Regions from separate parts of the Homo sapiens genome. Here all the other regions are linked to region 6. The links are contacts of gene promoters, found by promoter capture Hi-C in blood cells and fetal thymus (Javierre and others, 2016). All regions are on one chromosome and are shown on one strand. Each heading gives the region's core, a stretch centred on a gene start or on the middle of the fragment in contact. The rest is flanking DNA. Distances are from core to core; before and after follow the strand shown. Region 1 overlaps CCNK (cyclin K). Region 2 overlaps EML1 (EMAP like 1). Region 3 overlaps EML1 (EMAP like 1). Region 4 overlaps EML1 (EMAP like 1). Region 5 overlaps EML1 (EMAP like 1). Region 6 holds the start of CYP46A1 (cytochrome P450 family 46 subfamily A member 1).

Region 1 (4,432 bases), core at 1,581-4,080, 200 kb after region 6:
AGGACAAAAATAACTGAAAAGAATTATTTATTTGTTTATTTATTTACTTACTTACTTATTTTAGAGTCAGAGTCTTGTTCTGTCACCCAGGCTATAAGTGCAGTGGCATGATCCTAGTTCACTGCAGCATCGAACTCCTGGCCTCAAGCGATCCTCCCGCCTAGCCTCCCAAAGTGCTAGGATTATGGGTATGAGCCACAGTGGCTGGCCCCAACGAAATTTTAAAACTTCATTAGTGTACTGTTAGTAGTGTCATTAATGTTGTAATTTTCAAACACATTTTTTTTTGCATGTTGTGGAATAAAGCAAATATGTAAATGCTAATGTTGTTAGGAACCAAGATTTTCAGTGCAAAGAAAACAAATGCACACATGCAGAAAACCAAATGTTAAGAAACAAATCTGTAATGTTAAACTTTAACTGAAGATATCAAAATAAATCATGGTTAAAAAAAAATATATATATATGTATCCCATTTCTGTCCTTTTCAAGTACCAAGAAGGAATGACACTCCTAATTCTGAAATCTTAACTTTTTCAATACCAATACCCTCTAAAAGGAAGCAGGTTTCTTTCCAGTCTGGGGTTGGAGCCTGCCTGGGATGTACTCAGACTAATCAAAGCTTATCAAAAGACATAGGACTGCTGAAGGAATGATTTGCTAGGGAAAAAAAAAAAAAAGACATAGGAGCCACCATGATGGGTGCCCACTGGACTAATCCAAGGTAATTTGAATAGCAAAAAGAAAAATAACTGTGGTTGATCATAAAATAGTGAACATACAATCCAAGTGTCCATAATATTAATACATATAGAGAATAATACTTTGCTAGCACTGATAACTACTGATAATAAAATGCTACTGATAATAAATGCGACTTTGCTAGCATGGATATTAACTACTGTAAAAAAAATACAGTTGATCCTTAACAAAATGATCACACTTGACATCACTAATAGGGTGAAAACCTGACATTACATGGCTTCTGATGTGATGCAATGTGAAATAAATATCACCTACCTATGTAGTATTCTTGTCCCCCAAAAGCTTAACCTAAATTTAAGCAAACTTTTGACCGAACTTCCAGTTTACAATAAATACTGGTGGTACAAGAGTAAGTGAAAAAAGCACAACATGGAAACTATCAGTCACATCCAGAAGGTGAGACACTCTACTCAACAACTGACCCGGTCTCTTCAAAACAGTGTTATGAAAAAACATTTTGAGAGACTGTCTTAGATTTAAAAAGGCTAAAGAGGGCTACAACAAAATGCAATGTGTGAACCTTGATTAGATCCTGCTTTTTTTTTTTTTTTAAAAAAAAGAAATTTCAAACAATTTGGAAAAATTTAAGTATAAATTGTATATTAGAGGGTATTAGGGAGGGAATTACTGTCAGTTAATTTTCTTTGGGGGTAATAATGATATTGTGATTACACAGGAGAATGACTTTATTCTTAGCAGATGAAGGCTGAAGTATTTTGGGTAAAGTGTCATGATGTCTGCAACCTACTTTCAAATGGTTCAGCTAAAACACAACCACACAGTAAACATGGCAAAAAACGAACATGTGTCCACAGGTAAATAAGTTGTCATTGCACTATTCTTTCATACAATAAAAAGTTGGGGAAAAAGTCAGATGAGACTGAATAGGAGACCAGGAGGACTCCTTATCTTCATCAATCCCTCGATAGCCAAGGAATACTTGCTTATGTGTGGGTACTGCTTTCATAAATTACAACACTGTGATTTGAATTATAGCATACAAAAAGAAAAGTGAACTAATTATAAGTGTATGGCTGATTGTTTTTCACAAAGTAAACACACCTGTGTTAACACTATTCAGTTGAGAAAGAGAACAGTACCAACATTCCAGAAGCTCTCTTCGTTCTTTCCTAGTGACTATCCTCCCAAAGATAACTATTCTGACCTCTATTTCCATCAATTTGTTTTGCCTGTTTTTGAAGGACTGTGCGATGACACAGTACCACTTTTACATTTGGTTTCTTCTGCTCAATATTAAGTTCATGGGATTCATTCCTGTTGTTGCATAAAGCAGTATTTGTTCATTCTCACTGCCGCAGAGCAGTGGTTTTTAAACCTGGGACAATTTTGCCCCCCAGGGGACATTTGGCAATGTCTGAAGACACTTCTGGTTTTCCTAACTGGGGGGTTGCCACTGGCATCTAGTGTGGGTAGAGGCCAGGAATGTTGCTGAATGTCCTCAGTGCACAGAACAATCCCCCATGACAAGAAATTATCTGGTCCAACATGTCAATAGTGCCAAAGCTGAGAAAGTCTGCTGTACAGTACAGTTATATCCTATGAATGCAACACACTTTATCTATACATTCTACTGTTTGGGCATGTAAATGTTTCTGGTGTTTGATTATTAATAAGTGTTAAACATGTACATATATTCTTATAGAACAGAAGGCAACTGGACAGTTGGCTGAGGGAATCAATATCTTAGCACATCTTAGCAATTTATTCACAGTTGGGAATTGCTACTTTAATATACATACGCCTAACAGTTTTCCATGTACTTTTTCATTTAAATATTTCCTGAGCATTTACTATGAGCCAGGCCTTAATGGCATGGCAGGGCACAAGATAAGTAAGGTCTTTGCCCCAGGAAGCTTACATTCTAGTGGGAGAGACAATAAGAAAGAAATATATGAATATTTGTCAGGGAATCTTAAGTGCCACAAATAATAACGCATGTAAGGGGAGAGAACATAATGAGGTAAGGGCTGTTTAGAGGTATGCAGAAAGAGGAAGAGTTAGGAGATTATAGTAGCAGTTCAAGTAATGCCTAATACACCTGTCTCCACACAATGGCAGCTGGAACAAGGGGTGTGTGTGTCATAATTGGCCATGAGGCAAAGAATGGAAAAAGATGATTTCAAGTTTGACTGACACAGAGGGTGATACTAAAAAGACAAATGGATAAGACAAGAGAAAAAGCTGGTTTTGATAAGGAGGGAGGAAAAGAATTTGGCTCTATAAATACTAAGCTTGAAGAACTTTAAGATCCTTTTGTGGAAATATCTATCAGACAGATAAATAGGCCAGTTGAAGTCTCTACAGAACATATCTACTTGGGGTTCATCTACACAGAGGTGATAACTATAAAGTCATGTTGACGGATGGAGGGATGGAGAGTGAAGAAGGAAGGGGTCTGGGTACAGAACTCTGTGAACTTGTACCAAGTAGGAAGAATCACCAAAGGCGAGCGTTTGCCCAGTGACAGGAAGGTAAAACAGACTTGAATGCACTTATGATTTACCCACTTGCAGACTAAGAATCACCAAATTAGAGAAAGGGAAAAAGACTGGTCCAAGAAGTAGGGAAATTTGCATCCTTTGTTGCAAAACAAACCATGGGATGTCAGCTTTAAACCAGAGATGGTAGTCAACAGTGACAAATGCTAAAGAAAAGTTAAAGGACAAGGAACTAAGGAAAGTTTACTTTAATTGGTGATTAGTTGTTTATTAGAGACACTGAAAATTGTGATGGTTTCATGACTCTGCAAATACTAAAAACGACTGATTTGTACAGTTTAAATGGGTAATTTGTACGGTATAGGATTATATTTCAAGAAAATACATATATACACATATAAATAAAATAACATTTTTAGAAGTGCAATAGGGCAGAAGGTGTAGAAACTGCAAGGGGTGGTAAAGAATGAACAGACTAGGAAATAGGTTATTCTTTTTTATTCATTTTTTAATTTTTTGAGACAGAGTCTCCCTCTGTCATCCAGGCTGGAATGCAGTGGTGCTCACTGCAACCTCCCGCCTCCAGGGTTCAAGTGATTCTCCTGCCTCAGCCTCCTGAGTAGCTGGGATTACAGGCATAAGCCACCGTGCCTGGCTGGAAATAGGTTATTCTTTTGAGGCATCTGTTCTCAAAGAGAGTAACAGGGAATAGTAGGGAGTAGGTTTTGTTATTGTTTTGGTTTTTATATATTTTTCAGCATAAAGGAGAATGAAAAATGTCTGCAGCCAGTAAAAACAAAAAGGAATCACTAGAGGAGTCAGAACAAGGGAGGCTAACTGGTCAAGGGATAATAAAAAGCACAGCAAGAAAGTTAACCTTAGAAAGAAAGCTCTTTCTTCCCCTGAGAATGGAAGGAAAAGTTTGAGAAAGATATTTTTAAATAATCTTTTAAGGGGGAGGAAGTAACTAAAAAATCTCAAGAGTACCTCCATATTCTCTAGGAAGTATAATGCCAAGATATCTGTTGAGGGGAAAGGGGCAGAACGGGGAACAGTGTTAGGAATACCCCAGTAGGGATGAAACTGGAATGGAAAAGAACCTCGGTCCACAAGCGGATAAATCGTAAGTATATTCAATTGTTTTACCTTCTGTAACTGGCCAAACTCCTGGTCCCTTTAGGTTCCAAGGCAGAATATAAACAATTCAT
Region 2 (4,525 bases), core at 786-3,285, 160 kb before region 6:
TTACTATTGTTGTTTCCAATAAAAATTACCAAAACAAATCCAAGTTTAACAAAATTCCTATGTGCTGTCTCAACGGTTATGCAAATTAGCACTGAATAATTAGAAATTAGTGCATAATTAATAATATTTGCTTTTTAAATCATGAAAGAATCTGTAGCATAGACTCATGCATTTATTTTTTTTCTTTAGCAATAGTGTCTCACTCTGTTGCCCAGGCTGGAGTGCAGTGGTGCGATTACAGCTCACTGGAGCCTTGACCTGGGCTCAAACAATCCTCCTATCTCAGCCTCCCGAGTAGTTGGAAGTACAGATGCACACCACCACATCTAGGTAATTTTTAAACTTTTTATAGAGATGGGGTCTCATTATGTTGCACAGGCTGGTCTTGAACTCCTAGCCTCAAGCGATTATCCTGCCTCAGCGTCTCAAAGTGCTGGGATTACACAGGCATGAGCCACCACACCCAGCCTAGAACTGTGCATTTCTATGACATTTTTGGGTTGTTCGTGCAGACAGCAGCTTCTAGAGAAGGCACACACGCTCACTGCTGGGACTCAAGCACATTTATTGTGGCTGCCAGCACAGGATTGAGGAGGAAAAAGTTGGTCTCTGTAGTATAACCTTGCATTTTCAAATCAATATTATAAAACAACATACAGAGTAAGGCAAGACTGGCCTGCTCCCTGCATTCAAAAACTTTAGCATCACTGTGGTCTCAGTGGCTTTAATAAAACTGCACAAATCAGAATATTTAAATTATATTGCTGAATTTATATAGGAAAAAGTTTGATTTTAATATTTTAATAAAAACCCCCACCACCTCAATATTTGCCTTCAAATACAAATGGTTAAAAACTGAAATGTCAGATCTGCTTAGGAGAGCCCCCATTTGTGAGATTTGCTGAAGTTTTCCCCATGACATAATCCTAGTGCTTTTCAGATCCTGCCAAAATCATTGCTTTAACCTGTAATGGATTTTCTTACTTCTGTTTCTGCAGGTAATTAATCTGAAGAATACGACTGGGAGACTTCTTGGCAGCAGCATGAGCTGTCTGAGGTTCTTAACCTTCTTGTGTACAGAAAAGACCAGTGTTGTTCAAATGACTTTACACTTCAATTAAGCTGGGGGAAAAACTGATTAGCATAATGAAGAACAAAGCCTAAAGCTTGCTTTAACCAACACAAACCATTTGAATCTCTAAGCATTTCATAGGATTCCACAGCACAAGATGTGAAACTTCATCTGAATTTCATCAAAGAAAACCTCAGGTTGGGAATGCAGCACCAATAAAACTTTAACAACTTATTTATTTTAAAGTCATTTTTGCTCCTATACCTCTCAAATCTATCTGTGGAGGTCATTAAAACAGTGTCAATAATTGAGCTTTAGCTTTTTTTCCCCCAAGTTTTTACATTCTTGTCTATTATCACTTTACAGTGTTAGAGGGAGGTTTGAAGAAGACAATATTCTCTAAACTTTTACCTCTTGGGTTTTCTAAAACTTTTGTGTGAACTGGAGCTCCGGTTGGGCTGGGCACCTGCTCCTTTCCTGATCTGTTTACACATGGCAGTGTGTAACTGCGTCTATGGGGCGGTGTCTCTATCTCAGTATTGGGGAACGATCTCCCACGTTGTGATCTCGCAGCACATGCTGACTCTATGGGCACAGGGTAGACAAGATTTAATCAGAGGGAAAACTGAACACCCAGTGGTGCGAGGCATTGATGCAGATGTCTTAGCTGGCCAACCACTCTGAAAGCCACTCTGCAGCCTCTGCCAACAACCCTTCTCAGGGCTACACGTTCCAACTTTGTGGCATTTTGTCAAGGGCCAAACACTGTTGAGAGTAGTCTGCTAAGGGTTACCTATACTGCCCTGTCTGGGTCCTGGGGCTTTAGAGGCACAAGAGAGAGAGCACTGATTTGGGATTCAAACTGAGCAGTAGCCAATTCCTAATCTGTCCCCTATTAGCTATGTGACCTAATACCACCTGCCTTCTGACGTTCCTGTGAAGATGAATGTTAGCGTGTATGAAACTTCTAATACTATGACGGCATACAGACACTCAACACAAATGGTACTTGAGCCTTACTAGAATCCATTGTTATGAATATTCCTGTTTTGTTTATAAGAGCAAAAAGCAAACATTGATCTTCAGTGAAATCAACGATTAACAATAATTATTGAACAAATTCTGCAAATACTGTGCAGGTCTCTCTCTGCAGCACCTCTGGCCAAGTTGAGGAAATGTGATGTTAGCCTTAAGATAAGGCATGGTTTGATGCCACACGAGCCCTCCCACTTGGCAGCACACGACCAGTGGCAAAAGGACAGGCCAAGTGTTACCTCTCATAGCCTCCAGCTCCAACTTGACTCTCATGAGAACCCAGCCAAGCACTGGCTTCTTTCTGAGTTTCAAGGGATGCCATGGGTCTGGGCAGCCCCTACATCACCCGCAGTTTCAGAAGCAAAAAGAAGACCTTGTAGCTCTGCTTTTACCATAGGTCCTCATGTAGCTATTTACAGATCTGACTTTGAAGTTTAATTACTTTTTCTCTTACTGTAAAAAACAGAACAAAAGGGTTTCCGGTAACATGATGTGTTTCACTCTATTAAAAGGTGAGAGAAGCATGCTTTTTTCTCCATTCATGTGATTATCTCAGTATCCAGGGATAAGAGCAGGCTCTTGACTCTGTAAATCTTCCAGTAATACTAAGACATTGTTATCTGAGTGCTATTCCCGGAGGTTAAAGTGGCCTAGTAATTTTAAAAGGTTAACTTAGAATCTGTTCCCTTTATCGTGAGATGTTCTTATTTTCTTTAATTATTTAAGATAATGATAGCACCAAAACAATAATAGCCACCCTTGATTCACCAGCCGCTGTATGTCAGGGCCTAAGCTTTGTGGTGCAGTGTCCCCATGCCCAGTGTCCCCACGCCACACAGCGCCCTCCCACAGAGGTGCCACCCTCATGCCACAGATGAAGTAGGAGAACCTGAGTTTCTGGTCCACCTTGCCTAAGGTTGCACGGCTAGAATGTGGCCAGCCGAGGGTGAGCTGTGAGCCTAGGCTCTTTTCACCATATGAGTTCTCCATCCAAATGACAGGTATTAATTCCAGTGAGATTTCTGTGGTACTAAGTAAAATACACATAGAATTTTTACATCATTTTGCCTTTTCCAAAATATTACACAAATGCTATTTAGAAAAAAAACTTACCAGATTTAGTAGTTTAAAACCAATCATTTAAGCAGTAACAAATAATAACCCTTTGCTCAATAATTTGCAGATAAACATTTCACATAAAGCAGACTTTCCATATTATACGTTGTTCACGGAATAGTTATACTCTATTGTCATATTCGGAGTCATCCTATTAGTATCCAATAGCAAAAGAAACATACAAGCAATCAGTACAGAGAAGCAATTAACTGTCATTGCTCTGCCACTTGCGGGCCTGGATTTCGGCCTTGCTGTCAGATTCGCAGCCCTGCGTACCACTCCTGGCTGGGCTCCAGCTTTATTTCTGTTCTCAGACTCCCAGTTCTCCTTGGATCATCTGGGTCAGTTAGGAACCCTGTGTCCTGCTCACCTCCAAGCTGGACCTGCCACAAGAGCTCCGGCTCTGACGTTCATCACTTCATAGAAAATGACAAGAATCGATCCCACCTCAAAATAAACCTGTTTCAAATGAAGCTCAAGAACTAATGTTCACATAATTGAATCTTAAAGAGCTCTACAACAACCTTTGCCTGATATAAAAATTTGTCATCGAATATTGATTAAAAGAACTTCAGCAGAGCCTCTTGAATCTGGAAAGAAATGGTATAAAGATCTTTTACAAGCCTTAGGTTGGATAATGGTGGTGATGGAGATGAGAAAAAATACTCAAGATCACCCTAAGAGGCAACATGTGACTGTGTTTACCTTGGATGACATGGAGTTTAAAGGAAACAAACTTTCAGTTTAATTCTGTACAATGATATTGAGCATCCTTCTGGGGCAGACCTAGTGCCGGGCAATGCGATCTTCCCAATCCAAGGGCACTCAGTCTAGCAAGAAGAGACTGGCCAACAAATAACCATAACAGAAATGTAGGAACACAGATGAGGGATCAAATCAATAGCCCCCACCCTGCCCCAACTGTTATATGCCAGAATCACAAGCTTGCCAGAAAGTAATATGAGGACTAGACAGATAAAGATCAAAACACAGGTGAGTACAGAACACAACTTCAGGCCCGTTACTACGTTTCAATTAATGAATTGTAATTGAAAACAAAAGAGGAAAAATAAGAACAATCATCTGTAAAAAGACTGGCCATTGAAATTCTCTAGTTGAGTATTTAAGGGAATTTGCTAATTACCTTATCTTGACCTATCCTGGACTCTCATTTCATTTTGCCTAACCACAGTTATGAAGTCAACAAAGACATCCTGTGGAGCCCTGGAGACTTTGAAATCTTTGGAATGTTTACTAAATACTACAAACATGCACGCGCGCGCGCACACACACACACGCGCG
Region 3 (4,069 bases), core at 777-3,276, 220 kb before region 6:
CCAGAGACCGTAAGTTGAAGCTCCTGGTTGGAGGCTGGATTAACAACGATGGGGCCGACCAGGGGCATGTCTGAGCCCTGCCAGTTTGATTTTGGGTGCTGGGTGCTGAGCTGAATGGCTAATATCTATGTTTTGTCACACATATTTTGCTCTGGCCAGGACAGAAAAAGATAATTTTCCTTTATGATGTGGCTTGGCCCCTAGGGCTGTGGTGCAGCCAGCTGGATCACTAGGGCCGCCTCAGGGAAAGGGAACCCAGAAGCCTGGCATGCCAGCAAAATGGTAAGAATTTCTTACCAGTCAGACTTCTGGCCTTTCTCTCTCTCTCTCTCTGCAAACTGGCTGAATGAATGGTAAAAATCACTATTTATCTCCTGTAAAGTTTTGATTAATGGGAAAAAAGGATTTGTGAGGGTAATCTTAAGCTGTAGAAAATCTGTTGTGCTTTGTGTTATAAATTTGTCTTCTATATCATTCTGTCATAAAGAGGGGTACCATAGGATAGAATGTGGGCCTAGGACCCTATAAGCCCACTGTTCAAAGTAGCACAGCAAACTGGTCAGTTATAAATTTTGTGGCAGGTTCCTGAAAAAAAACTGGATAAAGTTTCTCTCTTATCTTGTTTCGTGTGCTTGGGAGCTTGACCTTGTAACACGTGGCAGTACTTTATCTTGGTCTCTGCCATCACAGTGGCAGCCTGGGATCAGGGTTCAATTCCTGGCTTAGGGAATGAGTCCTTTATTTTCTGTCTGTGTATTTACATGTATTATGTGTGTGATGTTTATATATGAAAGAGCTTTGATTAATTGGTGTAATAATAATAATAAGCTTAAATCAAATATTTTGTAAGAAAAGTAAAAAGTGTAATGCCTTTCAGTTCACATGAATTAAGTAATTTTTGGGAAATAAAAACTGTTTTATATGTAAGGTGTATAAAGAAAGTGAAATGTCTTTTGGTAATAGATTATAAGAAGGCATGGAAATGTGGATTTTTTTTTGCCTAGATTAAAAGGTTAAATTATTGTTTTAAATTAGATAGAATAAAGCTCAAAGTTTAAGCAAGTTGTCGAAAGTTTGAGAGAAATTAATCTTGTAAAGAAATTCTGTGTGAACATATTGGCTAAAGTTAAAGGGGTATTAATCAGTTTTTCTGTAAATTAAACATTGGAATAAAAGCACAACAGGTTTTTCTCTGAGCAATGATCTGCTTTTCAACACAAATTGTAAAGGATTAATAAAAGGTTTATAAAAATCTTACCTTATGGTCACAGTGATTAAAATTGAATACATTGGCCAGGCACGATGGCTCACACCTGTAACCCCAGCACTTTGGGAGGCCGAGGCGGGTGGATCACTTGAGGTCAGGAGTTCGAGATCAGCATGGCCAACACAGTGAAACCCGTCTCTACTAAAAATACAAAAAAATGGCTGGGCATGGTGGTGTGCACCTGTAATCCTAGCTTCTAGGGAGGTGAGGTGGGAGAATTGCTTGAACCCGGGAGGTGGAGGTTGCAGTGAGCTGAAATCATGCCACTGCCCTCTAGCCTGGGTGACAGAGTGAGACTCTGTCTCAAAAAAAAAAAAAAAATGAATAGATTTATCTATGAGATTTTGTTAAGAATATTTAACATCAATAGTACACTAATGTAAAGGTGAAATTTGGCTTATTTGGTATAAAAGTCATACAGGAAGCATTGTCAAATAGGAAATTGGCTTTCTTTGGGCTGTATTTGTATAAATATGTTACTGGCATGTGTTCCAAAATTAGGTGAAACTCCTATAATTCTGATATGACTTAGTGTATGTTATTAATAGTTGTACTTGTTATGTTAAATTATTGTATGCTCCAGGAGTAACCAAATTTCCTTGTCAATTGTGGCTTTAATTGTGGCTGTCCTAAGACTTTCTGTCATCCACAGACAATTCTTGTCTTGTTTTGGTCCTATTTAAAAGGTGGCTTATAATCAGATATAGGCCTTTAACAGGTGCTCTTGAATGCAAGTTTCTGATTACTTTCAAAGTTGTAACATGAGAATAGAGGAAAAAACTTTCAGGACTCTCATGGGGAGCTGAAATGTTCCTGAATATCAAGCAGAACAGGAGTTAACTGCATGAACCAAACTAATAGAAGATTGAAATCATCTTTTTTGACTTTGCTTAAAATGTTGCTGATCCTTTGCTTTTTTCAAAGACAAGAAAACTTTTCTTTTGAGCTATTTAGAGCTTTTAACAATTAAGTAAAGTATACTGCTATGAACAAAATTTGAAGCATATTTGTTTCTCTCAACCTGATCTCTCCAGAATTTAGAAACTATTTGTGAGTATTCTTAATTTATGGCAATATAGTTAATTGCATAATTGTAAAGAATTTGTTTTTGTTTGTAACAGGACACAACTGGAGAAACTGGTTATTTTTTTCACAGGAATGGCATGCTTTCCTTTAAGGAATCAAATTGAATTGTAGAGTCAATAGAAGCCCCTTGGGGGAAACTGGCCTTGTACCTTGTCTCCACAGTCCCTGTACAGGGTTCCTGATCTGTGGTAAGTAAAGAATGTCACTTTCTCACAGGCCCAGGAGCCCCAAGTTATCTTGGGACCCCCCAAGAGGAGAGGAATTTACCCAACCCATAGGTATTTGAGAATATAAACCTATGGCTGGGCTTGGCTTTAAAAAAGGTCTTATCTGAGATTCCTTATGGAACAGAGTTCCATCAAAGCCAATTTAAAAAGCCTATGTGAAAAATAATTATTCTTGCTGCACTTTATACAAATAATCAAGCCAAGTATACAAGACTAAGGCTTATTTTTCCAAACTAATCAGTCCTGTTATGGTTTGTCTTTAGTAAAAATGGGAGACTGGAGACAGAAATTATGTTTCAAGAACTATGGTACATTTGTCATTAGATTCTAGTTTCATCAGTCGTTTTTAAGTTTTTTCTGCTATTTAAACTAACCCTGCTTATTCCTGTGAACCAACCAGTGATCTCTGACTGCGGCTCAGAAGAAATAAAAGCAATGGGTAATGTAAATATCTGGATCAGTATTCCAATTCTGGACACACTGGAATCAGCTAGCGACCCCATATCAGCTTGGTTCCAATAGTTGCCCAGTTAATAAAAAGCCTTCTTACTTAGTTTACTTGGGATAATTTTGTTTATTTTGTTTTACTGTTGTGGAATATATTGCTGTTGCACTCTTTGTGTAGGAATGCAGGATAAGCTTACTCAATGTTTTCTTAAGTTGAACACTTAATAATCTTCCAGATATCACCTTGCCATACTGACGTCTTCTGACTGAGCTCTTCTCTACCCCAAATACAAGAGACCCTAATAGTTAGGCAGGAATATCATCATCCCTATTCAGCCCGAAGAAGTTACAGAAGATGGATCTTTGTCCCTTTACAACCCTTAGGATTAAGGATTCTCTTATAAAAGGGAGGGGAGAAATGTCAGAGGCATTTGAACCAGAGCAACTTGAATAGGGGCTGGGGAAAATGAGGCTGAGACCTACTGGGCTGCATTCCCAGGTGGTTAGGCATTCTAGGTCACAGAATGAGATGGAGGTTGGCACAAGGTACAGGTCATAAAAACCTTGCTGATATAACCGCTTGCAGTAAAGAAGCCGGCTAAATCCCGCCAAAACCAAGATGGCGACAAGAGTGACCTCTGGTTGTCCTCACTGCTACACTCCCACCAGCACCATGACAGTTTACAAATGCCATGGCAGCATCAGGAAGTTACCCTATATGGTCTAAAAAGGGGAGGCATGAATAATCCACCCCTTGTTTAGCATATCATCAAGAAATAGTCATAAAAATGGGCAACCAGCAGACCTCAGGGCTGCTCTATAGAGTAGACATTCTTTTAGTGTTTTACTTTCCTAATAAACTTGCTTTCACTTTACTCTATGGACTTGCCTTGAATTCTTACAAGAGATCCAAGAACTCTCCCTTGGGGTCTGGATCGGGACCCCTTTCCAGTAGCAGGATGGCAGAGACAGACACGCTGGAGCCACCCTTGAAAGAAGCAGGTGAAATTCAAGGCCAGAGCACATAAACTGCCTTAAGGAA
Region 4 (4,180 bases), core at 655-3,154, 180 kb before region 6:
TACTAAAAATACAAAAAAATTAGCTGGATATGGTGGTGTGCGCCTGTAATCCCAGCTACTTGGGAGGCTGAGGCAGGAGAATCACTTGAACCCGGGAGGCGGAGGTTGCAGTGAGCCAAAATCGCGCCACTGCACTCCAGCCTGGGTGACAGAGCAAGACTGTCTCAAAAAAAAAAAATGTTATTTCCTAAATAATAAAACTTGACAGTTGAAATTACTCCTTGATCCAAGGGCTGCAGAATGCGTGTTGTGTGAGCCAGCATAAAAACATTAATTTCCGCTCCATCAGAGCTCCTGGATGACTAGGTACACTGTAAATGAATGGTAATATTTGGAAAGGAAGCTTTTTCTTCCGAGCAGTAGGCCTCAACAATGGGCTAAGAATATTCAGTACATCATATTGCTACAACAGATGTGCTGTCATCTAGGTTTTCTTCCATTTATAGAGCACAGGCAGAGATTTAGCATCATTCTTAAGGGCCCTAGGATTTTTGGAATGATAAATGAACACTAGCTCCAATTTAAAGTCACCAGCCACATCAGGCCCTAACAAGAGTCAGTCTGTCCTTTGAAGCTTTGAAGTCAGGTATTGACTTCTCATATAAAAGCCCTAGATGGCACCTTCCTCCAATGTAACGCTGTTTCATCTACATTGAAAATGTGTTGTTTAGTGTAGCTGCTTTCACCAGTTATCTTAGCTAGCTAGGTCTTCTGCATAACCTGTAGCAGCTTCTACAATAGCACTTGCTGCTTTACCTTGCACTTTTATGTTATGGAGAGGGCATCTTCCCTTAAACCTCATGAGCCAACCTCTGCTGGCTTCAATCTTTTCTTCTACAGCTTCCTCACCTCTCTCAGATTTCATAAAATTGAAGAGAGTTAAGGCCTTGCTCTGTATTAGGCTTTGGCTTAAGGGAATGTTGTGCCTCGTATGATCTTTGATTCTGACCACTCAAACTTTCTCCCTATCAGGAATAAGGATGTTGCTTTTTATTTTTTTCTTTTATCATTCACGTGTTCACTGGAGTAGCACTTCGAATTTCCTTCAAGAACTTTTTCTTTGCATCTATAACTTGGCTAACTGTTTGGAACAACAGGCCTGCATGAGTCCGTTTTGTGCAGCTATAAAGGAATGCCCAAGGCTGGGTAATTTATAAAGAAAAGAGGTTTAATTGCCTCACAGTTCTGCAGGCTGTCCAGGAAGCATGGCACCGGCATTTGCTCAGCTTCTGGTGCGGCCTCAGGGAGTTTTCAATCATGGCAGAAGACAAGACAGGAGCAGGCACGTCCTTTGGCAAGAGAGGGAGCAAGTGGGGAGGAGGTGCCACGCTCTTTTAAACAACCAGACCTTGAGTGAACTCAGAGCAAGAACTCACTTATTGTGAAGACAGCACCAATACGTTCATGAGGGATCTACCCTGATGAACCAAACACCTCCTCCCAGGCCCATCTCCAACAGTGGGGATCACACTTCAACATGAAATTTGGAGGAGACAAACATCTAAACCACATGATGGTCTATCCTGGCTTTTGACATGTCTTCCTCATTAAGCCGAATCATGTCTAGCTTTTGATTTAAAGTGAAAAATGTATGACTCTTCCTTCACTTGAACACTTAGAGGCCATTATAGGGTTACTAAATGGCCTTATTTCAATATTGTTGTGTCTCAGGGAAAAGGGAGGCCAATGGAGAGGGAAAGAGATGGGGAAACAATGGGCAGAGGAGTCAGGACACAAACCACATTTATGGATTAAGTTTGCCACCTTCTATGGGTGCTGTTTTTGGTGCCCCAAAACAATTACAGTATTAACACCAAAGATCACTGATCACCATACCAGACATAATGATAACAAAAAAGTTGTAATGTTGCAAGAATTACCAAAATGTGACATGAAGTGGGTACATGTTGGAAAAACGATGCTGATAGATTTACTCAACACAGGGTTGCCACCACCACCAATTTGTAAAAAAAATGTGGTATCTCTAAAGCACAATAAAGCCAGACACAATAAAATGAGGCATGCATGTATTTGCTACAATAAAAAGTCAATCTTTAAATTAAACAACTCACTCTTAAACAATCAATGGTCAAAGAAGAAATCACAAAGAAATTTTAAAAATATCCGGAGACATATGAAAACACAACATACCAAAACTTTACAGGAGGCAGTGAAAGGGGTACTAAGAGGGAAGTCTATAGTGATCAAAGTTTTCATAAAAAGAAGACAGATCTCACATCAGCCTCCTAACTTTATACTTCAAGGAACTAGAAGAAGAAGATAAAACCAAAAGTTGGCAGAGCGAAGGAAATAATAAAGATTAGAGCAGAGATAAATGAAGTGGAGAATAGAAAAACAATAGGAAAAAAATCAACAAAACCAAGAATTGTTTTTTTTAAAAAAGATCAACAAAATTGAAAAACCCTTAGCTAGACTAACAAAGAAAGACAGAAAATTTAAATAACTAAAATTAGAAATGAAAGGACATTACAACGGATATAACAAAAACGAGAAGGACTATAAGAGACCACTGTGAACAAGCATATGCCAGCAAATTGGGTGACCTAGAGCAAATGGATAAGTCCTAGAAACACAAAGCCCACCAGGACTGAATCATAAAGAAGCAAAAAATATGAACAGACCTAGAACTAGTAAGGAGACTGAAGCAGTAATCAAAAACCTCCCAACAAAGAAAAGTCCAGGACCCAATGGCTGCAGCGGAGAATTCTATCAAACATTTAAAAAAGGATAAATTCCAATGCTCCTTAAACTCTTCCAAAGAATTGAGGAGGAGGGAACACTTCCAAATCATTGCATGAGGCCAGCATTATTCTAATACCAAAACCAGACAAAGACACAAGAAAAGAAAACTATAGACCAATATCCCTGATGAATGCTGATGAAAAAATCCTCAACAAAATACTAGTAAACTGAAAACAACAGCACATTAAATGGATTATATACCATGACAAATTAGGATTTATATTTGGAATGCAAGAATGATTCAACACATAAAAATCAATCAATGTGATACAATATTCACAGAATAAAGGACAAAAACCACATGATCATTTCAACTGATGCAGAAAAAGCATTTGACAAAATTCAACTCCTTTTCATGATAAAAAAACACAACAAACTAGGAATAGAAGGAAACTACCTCAATGTAATAAACGCCATATTTGAGTGGCCACAGCTCAAATAATACTCAATGGTAAAAGACTGAAAGCTTTTCCTCTAAAATTAGGAAGAAGGCAAGATACCCACTCTTGCCACTATTATTCAACATAGTACTCAAAGTCCTACCCAGAGCAATCAGACAAGAGAAAGAAATGAAAGGCATCCAAATAGGAAAGGATCCAAAGTAAAACTATCGGTCTACAGATGACAGAATCTTATATTTAGAAAACCCTAAAGATTCCAGAAGAAAACTGTGAGGACTAATACATAATTTCAACAAAGTTTCAGGTACAAAACCAACACACAAAAATCAGATGCATTTCTATATAATAACAATGACCAAGCTGAAAAGGAAGTTAAGAAATTAATTCTATTTACTGAAGCATCAAAAAGGATAAAATACTTAGGAATAACTTTAACCAAGGAGTTAGAAGACTCATACACTGAGAACTACAAAACTTTGCTAAAAGAAAATACAAAAAAAGAGAAAGACATCCTATGTTTATGGATTGGAAGACTTAATATTGCTAAAATCTCCATGCTACTCAAAGTGATATGCAGATTTAATGCAATCTCTATCAAAATCCCAAAGGCATTTTTTTGCAGAAATAGAAAAAAACTATCCTAAAATTCATATGGAATATCAAGGGACCCTAAATAGCCAAAACAATCATGAAAAAGAAGAATACAGTTGGGGGCCTCCCATTTCCTGATTTTAAAACATACTAAAAAGCAATAGTAATCAAGATGGTAGGGTATTGGCCATAAGGACAGATGTGCAGATAAATGGTACAGAATAGCCACTGATGGATGAATGTATAGACAAAATATGATAAAGATGGGGATAAGAGACACTGGGGACTCCAAAAGGAGGGTGGGAGAGAGGTGGGTAAGGGTTGAAAAACTTCCTATTTGGTACTATCTTCACTATCTGGGTAACAGGATCAACAGAAGCCCAAACCTCAGTATCACAAATATACCCTTGTAACAAACCTGCACA
Region 5 (4,279 bases), core at 1,528-4,027, 240 kb before region 6:
GGCATCGAATGCTTTCTCTCTCTCTCTCTTTAGTCTTAGGTCTGTAAATACTTAAATCCAAAAATGAGATAGTAATCCACAACAGTATAGCCTATATGCTGGAAAAATCTTGTGTAACCAGAAAACTCATACTGCTGATCACATTTTGCTTTGTGTCTGTTGCACTGTAGTTAGTTATAGCTACATTCACGCATGCAACTAACCCGTCATAAACCCTATGCTAGGAGCTAGCTGGGCACACAGTGCTGAACAAAATAGGGTCCCTCCCATCATGGAACTGTGGGTCACTCCCCAGGGGTCTGAGTCCACCATCTGGGTGCTGTTCCAGGGGCCATCACTGCTGCTGTTACTGATGATGATATCACATCCCCTGTGACATCTGCACAATGCTCTGCAGAGAACTCATTCACACTTCTTTCAGTTGGGCCTCATGGTAACTCACTGTCTGCTCTGAAAAGGTCACCTGGCTAACTAAGGGAGAACACTAGATTCAAATGCGGTTGGCCCGGCCCTGGCTTAGGGCTTTCACTTTTGCCCCACACAGCTCCCAGGCAATGACTCTGAAGCTGAGAGGCAGAGTTCTAGTAGGAAGAGCTCTCTGCTCTCCAGGGAATGGTCATTAGTGTAACTGACAAGAAATAGAAACATGTTTCCCAATGGACCTGCTCAAGTTAGCAGGCGCTGACAGGTATCAGATGGCTTTCTAGGAAAGAGGCTGCAGATGAGGCCCTCGTGCCTTCAGCAGACGTTCAAAATAACTGAGAAAATGGTGAGAAACACAAGATAAGATGCAGAACACTGGCTAAATTAACAGAAAGAAATGTGATACTGAGGAGGTTATGAATGAAAGGCATTCCAAGTCAAGCTCCTTCTCAACATGGACAAAAGGCTGCCAAGGGGGCTGAGCAGTTGTCTGTTTAGGGTGAGAAGTTATGAACGTGGTTCAGAGACAACGAAAAAACATCCAAAAGAGATGCTCTATCAGATCTTCTAAAGCTCGAGGACACGTCCCACTGTGAGGCAGAGTTGACGCTGTCAATAAGGTTATAAAATAGAAGATCCCTACAGAGACCAGCAGCTCAGAGTCAGCCACGTATTTCCCAGAACCAAAACTCCAGTTTCCAAGAGTGTCAGCATAGCCAAATGGCCTGTGCATGAAAGAAACAGTATTTCCCACAACATAATCATATAATGAAAAGGCAAGACAATCCCCTACCCTGTGGCAACAAGCACTCCTAACACCCATATTGTGATCTCCTCCCTTCAGATGAAAAAGGAAGGAGGGCCTCCTGAGAGAAAGGGCTATAGGTAAGAAATGTATACAAGGATCCTGGAACAACTTGTTATGCCAGAGAACAAGTACTAAAGGCTCCTGAGGTCACGTCAAAAGGACCCAGGAGCCAACTAGAGTAACTTCCACCTAATATAACAGACAGGAACACAGCAAATAAACTTCAATCCATAATGGCACCAAAACTACACCACTACCCACCACCACCACCACCACCACCACCACCACCATCACCATCACCACCACCACCACCACCACCACCACCACCACCTCCACCACCACCACCATCACCACCACCACCACCACCACCACCACCACCACCTCCACCACCACCACCACCTCCACCACCACCACCATCACCATCACCACCACCACCACCACCACCACCACCACCATCACCATCACCACCACCACCACCACCACCACCACCACCACCACCTCCACCACCACCACCATCACCACCACCACCACCATCACCACCACCACCACCTCCACCACCACCACCATCACCACCATCACCACCACCACCAATACCACCACCACCACCACCACCACCACCACCACCACCGCCACCACTACTACCACTACCACCACCACCATCACCACCACCAATACCACCACCACCACCACCCCCCCACCCCCCCCACCACCAATACCACCACCACTACCACCACCACTACTATCACCACCACTGATCGGTGACTGTTAGAGGAGCAGAAAGCAAATGTATTATCTCAGAAACTGGAAAATAAAGTGAATGAAATCAAGCATTAATTCTGACTTTCCTATATGAACTCTACCACTGGGTACCAAAATTGTAGATGAAGGAAAGTTTTTCTTCATAGAAGTACTATATCTAATAAATGAAGAAGAAAAGCTAACATTGGAAATCAATAGTTGGCAACCTTTATGGATCTAGGCACTGGGTAACAACAGCTACTAATGTCACAAAAAGTGAGAAAAACCCATTATGTGCCTCCTAAAGGAAAAATACAGCAACACATATACAGCTTGAATATGACCAAGCCTCGATATCCAGCAATCACTTTATGGGAAATACAGGGGACAGAGGAACACGTGAAGACAACACCACAAAGATGCATTCAGCAAAATCCAGTGTGGAAAATGCTACAGGACAAACGAGCCAGTTTCATCAACAAATTTACTGTAATAGAGGGAGAGAGAGAACACCTATGGATTAACAGAAACTAGTAAGTCATATCAACCAATTACCATTGTGTGGGCTTTTTTTTGCTTCCTGGTTTAAACAAATTGTTAAAAAAAAGTAAATTGAAAACTGGAACATATAACTGGCCATCTGATGATATTAAGACATCAATGCTGATTTGGGTTGGGGAGGAGACAACGATACTGTGGTTATATTAAAAATAAGAGGGCAGGTCTGTGCTGTGGCTCACGCCTGTAATCCCAGCACTTTGGAAGGCCAAGGGCAGGGGTGAATTGCTTGAGCTCAGGAGTTCAAGACCAGCCTGGGCAACATGGCAAAACCTCATCTCTACTAAAAATACAAAAAATTAGCCAGGTATGGTGGTGCATGCCTGTAGTCCCAGCTACTCGGGAGGCTGAGGTGGGAGGATTGCTTGAGCTTGAGGGATAGAGGTTGCAGTGAGCTGAGATCACGCCACTGCACTCCAACCTGGGTGACAGAGTGAGGCTCTGTCTAAAAAAAAAAAAAGGCAGAGCTGGGTGCAGTGGCACACGCCTGTAGTCCCACCTATTCAAGGGGCTGAGGCTGTAGTGTACTGTGATCACACCTGTGAGTACCCACTGCACTCCAGCCTGCAACATAGCAAGACCTCATCTCTAACAATAAAAAACAGTCATTAAAAAAAATAAGAGCTGCCAGGGGCAGTGGCTTATGCCTATAATCGCAGCACTTTGGGAGGCCGAGGCGGGCAGATCACTTGAGGCTAGGAGCTTGAGACCAGCCTGGCCAATCTGGCAAAACCCTGTCTCTACTAAAAATACAAAAATTAGCCAGGTGTGGTGGCGTAAGCCTGTAGTTCCAGCTACTCAGGAGGCCGAGGCAGGAGAATTGCTTGAATCTGGGAGGCAGAGGTTACAGTGAGCTGAAATCATGCCACTGCACTCCAGCCTGAACAACAGTGCAAGACTCCATCTCAAAAAAAGAAAAAAAAAACCCCAAAAAACACAAAAAATAAGAGGGCAGTTCTTCTAGCTGTGGCCAAATGAGAAGGTTGGCCAATCCTCTCCCCATAAAGCAATTATGAAATTCTATAAAACTGACAAAAACAACCATTTCCAGACTCTGTAAATTGAACAAGACATGAAAATCTGAGAAGTGTTGTTTATTTGAAAATCTTCTCAACTTCAGGTAAAAACAGGGTGAATCCATCATGTTCTTCCCTGGGCTGCCCTCACTCCTTCGCAGCAGCTGGGCCAGCACAGCGGTCCTGGCAGGGAAGAACAGGCTCTGAGGACCACGCGGCTGTGGTAAAAGGGCTCACTCCATATGGAGCCCTGGGCAATAGTAGCACTGGGATGGAAGTGACCATCTCTAGGGCAGTTGGGTGGGGAGGGCCAAGGTTTCTACTGGCTTGAGGTTACGGTTATTGGATGGGTGAGCGCATTCCTGGCTGACGGGAGGCTGGTGCATGCACAGTGGAGGCAGGAAAGGATCCTGCCTATTCAGACACCCTTCCGGCCAATCTGAATCTGTACATGTGCATAGAGGAGATGTAAAAGGGTGAGTGGAAAGTAAAAGCCAGGCCGACATGGAAACGGCCTGAACTTTGAACATGCCCTTCAACCTGCCCACAGAGCCACTGGCAGAGGACGGAGCCTTACTGGCTTAAGTTATTTGTGCATAACCTCTGCCCAATCATTCATTCAAACTACATGAAGCAAAAATAGAGTTGAAAAGAGAAATTTGGTGGCTCCTGCCTGTAATCCCACTTTGGGAGGCTGAGGCAGGAAGACTGCTTGAGCCCAGGAGTTTCAGTTTAG
Region 6 (4,462 bases), core at 1,544-4,043:
AAGAGTTGCCTCTTGCAGCGAGAGGGTTCCTTGCCTGCCAGCTGGCAAAGCCCTGGGGTACCCGGGGGCAAATGCTACTACTGGAGACTCAACACACAGATCTCTCGTCAACCACAGTATCGCCAATCATAGTTTAAAGATCCAGGCTTTTAATGTCAAGGCATCGGGTTTCTGCTAGAAGAGTTTCCAGAACTTTCATTTAGTGCAGTTTTATATTTGACCACTAACCAATTTTTAATCCAAAATCTTTTTATATATGCATTGTTCAGTTCACCTCCTTAGAATAAATAGCCCAATCATGATTATATTCATCTTCCTCCCACTGCTCCCTCCGCACCCCACACACTCAGGTCACATGTAGACTCTGTGGTATAAGATTTGGGAAGAATTTAGCCATAAGAAGGAAAGCAATAAGGATACATGCTACTACATGAATGAACTTTTGAAACATTATACTAAGTGAAAGAAGCCAGACACAAAAGGCCACATATTGTATGATTCCATTTATATGAAATGTCCAGAACAGGCAAATCCACAGAGACAGAAAGCAGATTCATGGTTGCCAGGGCTGTGAGGGGTGGGAGAAAATGAGGAGTGATGGCTAATGGGTACGGGGTTTCTTTCTGGGGTGACAAAACAGTTCTGAAATCGGTGGCGATGGCTGCACAGTGCTGTGAATGTACCAAAAACCACTGAATCATACACTAAAGAATACATTTTGTGGAATGCAAGTTACATTTCAATTTTTTTTAAGATGATTTAAATTCTGCTTTCTCAAGACACAGAGACCAGAACAGGTCATTTGAGTTTATGAGAAGACCAAGTAACGATGAAACTTATCAGAACAAGCACCAAACTCATTCAATTCTAAGTGCTGATGGCTTCTCTGAAAACTTGAGAGGGTGATAGTGTCCACCACGGAACTCACGGGAGATTTCCACCATTCAACCTTGAATTGCTATTCATAGAGTGTCTACTATGCATGTACAATGTGCTGCTACATGTCGGAGATGCAGCAGTGACTGAGACAGACAGGGGGCCCATGGAAAAGAGACACTTAGGAAAAACTTGCACAAATAATTGCCCAATTAACATTATGCTGTAAAGGAAAATTACAGTGATTTCAGGGTTTATAAAATGAACATAATATTTTTGGGGGAGCAGGAGGAACCTCCCTGAGGAGTTAGCATTGAAGCCAAACCTGGAAGGCTGGGGGAAGAAGCATCCAGGTAAAGTAGAAGGCAGAGGAGCTAAGCAAGGAGAGAGAGAGAGAGCACCAGAAGGGCAGAGAGCCAGCAGGGAGAACAGGTGCCTCCCTATGTCACCAGCCACAGAGATCTTTCCTGAACCCATCAAGCAGAGATTCAGGCTTCTAACGCCAGTACATCTGGCTTGTGCTGGAGATGGGTGCCTTCCAGAATATTCATGTCCTGAGATTTTAAAAAGTGTGTCTAATACAATTGTTTATTCATTCATTCAACAAATATTTATTGAGATCTGCAACACGCCAGGCACTGGGGATACACAAGCGAACACAGAGTGTCCCTGTCCTCCCGGGGCTCACATTCTAGAGGGGGAGACAGTCAACAGGTGAACAGACAGTCAACAGGTGGAAAGAAGGTAACCTCAGAGGTGATGGCCCCTGAGAAGTCTGGGGCTGGGTGGTCTTTACACAAGGTGCTGGGCAAGGCCTGTTTGAGACAAGCAGAGGAAGAAGCCCGCCAGGCCCAGGCTTGAGAAAAGGACCCGGGGGGAGGGAAGCTGCGGGGGGGGCGGGGGGAGGGGGAGGCTGGGAGAAGAAAGGCTGGGGGCAGTAGTGAGAAAGCAAGAGGAAAGAGCAAGCTGCAGAGTGGGTTCTGAGTGCTCGGCAGGGGCCTCGCGGGCCATGCAGCCGACTTAATTTAGAACTGCATTTAGTTGTCAAGTGATGGGAAGCCCTTGGAGCAGGGAAATGACACATTTAATTTAAGCTTCACAAAGCTAAGCTGGGGGTGGGGGGGGGTTGGCAAGTTGAGGGGGGTGTAAGTTGCGTGGGGGTGGGGACCAAGAATGCAATTGTAAGTACTAAGGAGAAGACAAATGGGGTGTCCCAGAACAGAAATACAAGCAAAAGGAAACATGACTGAAGTACAGCGTGCTCCAATCCAGGCTGACCCTGTCCAAGTCCCAAAGTTAACAGCGCCCACTTTGGAGGCAGGCTGACCTGGGCTTAAATCTAGGCTTACCAACCGTGTGACCTTGGGCAGGTGACTTCGCCTCTGAGCGCCTCAGTCTCCTCGTCTGAACGATGGGTTAACAATAGCGCCTACCTGAAAGGGCTGTGGCTGCCATCACGTTTGTGGGGCCCAGCTGTGCGCGGTGGGCGCCCAGCAGCTGCTGCGGCTGTGAGTAATTTGTTACTAAGAATAGTTAGCGCCCCTCTCGGGGCCGCCGACTCCCAGCGGCCGCGCGCACTAGGCGAGGCCGGACCCCCGGCCTGGACGCCGGCTTAGACGCTGTCCCCAGGCCCCCAGTCCCAGCACCCCAGCCAGGCCCCGCCCCCAGCCCCGCTCACCTGGGCCGCGGCGGCCCGGGGATGTGCTCGTAGCGGCTGCGAGCGCGGTGCACGAAGGTGCAGCAGAGGCCGAAGGCGAGCAGGACGGCGCTGCCGAGCAGCAGCAGCCCGGGGCTCATGGCTCCGGGGCAGGGCAGGCCAGGCCAGGGTCGGGCCGGGCGCCGAGGGGGCCGGGAGGCCGCGAGCCGACTCAGCTGTCAGCGCCGCGCGCCGCCTCGGCCCCAGGCCAGGCGCGACCCAGCACCCTCCCCGCCCGCTCGGCTCCGCCCCCGCCGACTCCGACCCCTCCCAGGGCGCACAGTCCCCGCCAACCACGTCTCCGCCTCCGGCTCCGGCGCTCCGGGCCCTCCCCCGCCCCGCCCCGCCCCCCAGAGCTCCGCCCCAACCTCCACACCGCCCCAGCCCAGGCCCCACCCCGAGCATGTGGTCTTCACCAATCACAACTCCGCTTCTGGCTCAGCCCCCCAGGCTCCGCCCCCACCTCTTCAGACTCAGGTCCGCCCCAGCAGCAGCTCCGCCCAGAACGCGTTGTCCCTGGCAACGCCGATCCTCAGCGCTCTGGCCCGGCGGCGGCGCGAAGTCCTGCTGGCTGGCTCCGCCCGCTTCGGCGCCTCCAAATAACGGCATCTTTCCGCGCGCGGTCTTAGGCCCCTTCCTTTTTCCCCCAAACCTGCCCGGAAACCCCATCCCAGCCTGCAAAAGTCCGCATAACGCCGACTGTTCCCAAACTTCTCCTTGGAACCCCAGACCCCCAAAGTTGTTCTCCAGTTGCCCCGGGGCGCCTCCTCCGCCCGGACAGTCCACGCCTAGCGCCCGTGGTCCGCCAGCGGGGCCCGCGGGCTGGTGGCAGGATCCTGCGGGACCCAGGGACGCCTGTGTCTGCGACCGAGAGCGCACGGCGTGGCCGGAGGCTGTTCTCCCAGAGACTCGGGGGCCTGCGGACCCTCCTAGACCAGGCGAAGCCCCATCTGAGGCGCTGGCTCAGGCCCGAAGGAGTTGGAGTTGGAGGGATGAAAATCTGGGTCCGCCCTCCAGGGAAAGCGGGAAATGTGCCGGGGAGGCGGGGGTAGCGGAGGAGAAGGTATTTTCGAAATAATGACCAGGGCTTCCCCCTCTGTCGTAACCCGCGTCTCCTTGCCCATCCCGTATGAAGATGAGGCCAATTCTGGGCGTTTTAGTTCCCAATTCCTATCCCGAGGGACCACCCAGCGTGAAAGTCGTGGCAGGGGAAGGCCAGGTGTGCCCACTCCTAGCCCAGGTAAAGGTCCCCCGGGCTGGAGGTAGAGGCCCAGGGAGTGTAGATGCTGCTGGGTTTCTGAGAAGAGGCAATGCCCCTGCCCCACGCTTGAGCCAGTCCTGGAGAGGTTGGGGGTTGGAAAACGAAGGGGACCTTGGTACCGCCTTCCCAGGTATAGTTAGGGACATGGGACATGGCTGTTAGGGGTGTGGGCTGAGGGGCGACGGAGACGGCCAAGTCTTAAGAGCCGTGCCCAGCACGGAGGAGGCGGGACTTCTGCCCTCGGGGCCACCGCAGCCTGGACAGGTGGGCAGCAGAGCATCCATCCCCCCGGCGCCTGGCCCGGCCGCCCAGTTGGACTCGGGGATGTTGGCTTGCTATGGCGCCCCCGTGTGGCGGCGGTGACAGGCAGCCGCAGGCCCACAGGGTAACTCAGGCTGGCCCTGCTGGGGTGAGGTGTGGAACGGAGCCACCAGGTCCCCTGTGGGCTGTGAAAGCTCCGGGGCTTGAGGGCAATTTGGAGGGAGGATGAGGCTGCAAGAAGGAGGGTGTGGATTCCTGCGCACTGGAAGGTGGGTTGGGGTGGTTAGCTAGAAAAGAAATGTGACGGCATCACATTTAGTATCCAGTTTGTGGAACGGCTCCCTGAGATTACACAGTGCATCGCACTG

The links. Contacts are between HindIII fragments. The CHiCAGO score rates a contact against its expected background, and 5 or more counts as called.
Region 1: a contact is called between a fragment that was not itself captured here and the fragment with the promoter of CYP46A1 in region 6, in 2 of 17 cell types (non-activated CD4 T cells and activated CD4 T cells). The highest score is 5.2, in non-activated CD4 T cells.
Region 2: a fragment that was not itself captured here is called in contact with the fragment with the promoter of CYP46A1 in region 6 in 1 of 17 cell types (endothelial precursors); the score reaches 5.1 in endothelial precursors.
Region 3: a contact is called between a fragment that was not itself captured here and the fragment with the promoter of CYP46A1 in region 6, in 1 of 17 cell types (endothelial precursors). The highest score is 19.2, in endothelial precursors.
Region 4: a fragment that was not itself captured here is called in contact with the fragment with the promoter of CYP46A1 in region 6 in 1 of 17 cell types (endothelial precursors); the score reaches 10.0 in endothelial precursors.
Region 5: a fragment that was not itself captured here is called in contact with the fragment with the promoter of CYP46A1 in region 6 in 1 of 17 cell types (endothelial precursors); the score reaches 7.1 in endothelial precursors.

The regions. Positions count from the first base shown.
Region 1 is chr14:99,485,162-99,489,593 of GRCh38, reverse strand. The region is part of intron 1 of CCNK (cyclin K); the gene reads right to left. It also overlaps a transcript of SETD3 not described here. Among named protein-coding and RNA genes, the nearest start is that of CCNK, 6.0 kb to the right of the region's middle. The HindIII fragment of the contact is 378 bases long and covers 2,642-3,019 here.
Region 2 is chr14:99,838,914-99,843,438 of GRCh38, reverse strand. All of the region lies in intron 1 of EML1 (EMAP like 1), which reads right to left. Among named protein-coding and RNA genes, the nearest start is that of EML1, 48 kb to the right of the region's middle. RefSeq lists an enhancer at 4,208-4,525. The HindIII fragment of the contact is 1,734 bases long and covers 1,169-2,902 here.
Region 3 is chr14:99,901,305-99,905,373 of GRCh38, reverse strand. All of the region lies in intron 9 of EML1 (EMAP like 1), which reads right to left. Among named protein-coding and RNA genes, the nearest start is that of EML1, 110 kb to the right of the region's middle. The HindIII fragment of the contact is 2,391 bases long and covers 831-3,221 here.
Region 4 is chr14:99,866,963-99,871,142 of GRCh38, reverse strand. All of the region lies in intron 3 of EML1 (EMAP like 1), which reads right to left. Among named protein-coding and RNA genes, the nearest start is that of EML1, 76 kb to the right of the region's middle. The HindIII fragment of the contact is 2,655 bases long and covers 577-3,231 here.
Region 5 is chr14:99,925,458-99,929,736 of GRCh38, reverse strand. All of the region lies in intron 17 of EML1 (EMAP like 1), which reads right to left. Among named protein-coding and RNA genes, the nearest start is that of EML1, 130 kb to the right of the region's middle. The HindIII fragment of the contact is 7,367 bases long and covers 1-4,279 here.
Region 6 is chr14:99,682,629-99,687,090 of GRCh38, reverse strand. It overlaps CYP46A1 (cytochrome P450 family 46 subfamily A member 1), which reads right to left and starts at 2,793. Exons shown (of 15, transcript NM_006668.2): 1 at 2,555-2,793. The coding sequence starts at 2,673. RefSeq lists a silencer at 2,409-2,988 and an enhancer at 4,229-4,298. The HindIII fragment of the contact is 4,802 bases long and covers 1,973-4,462 here.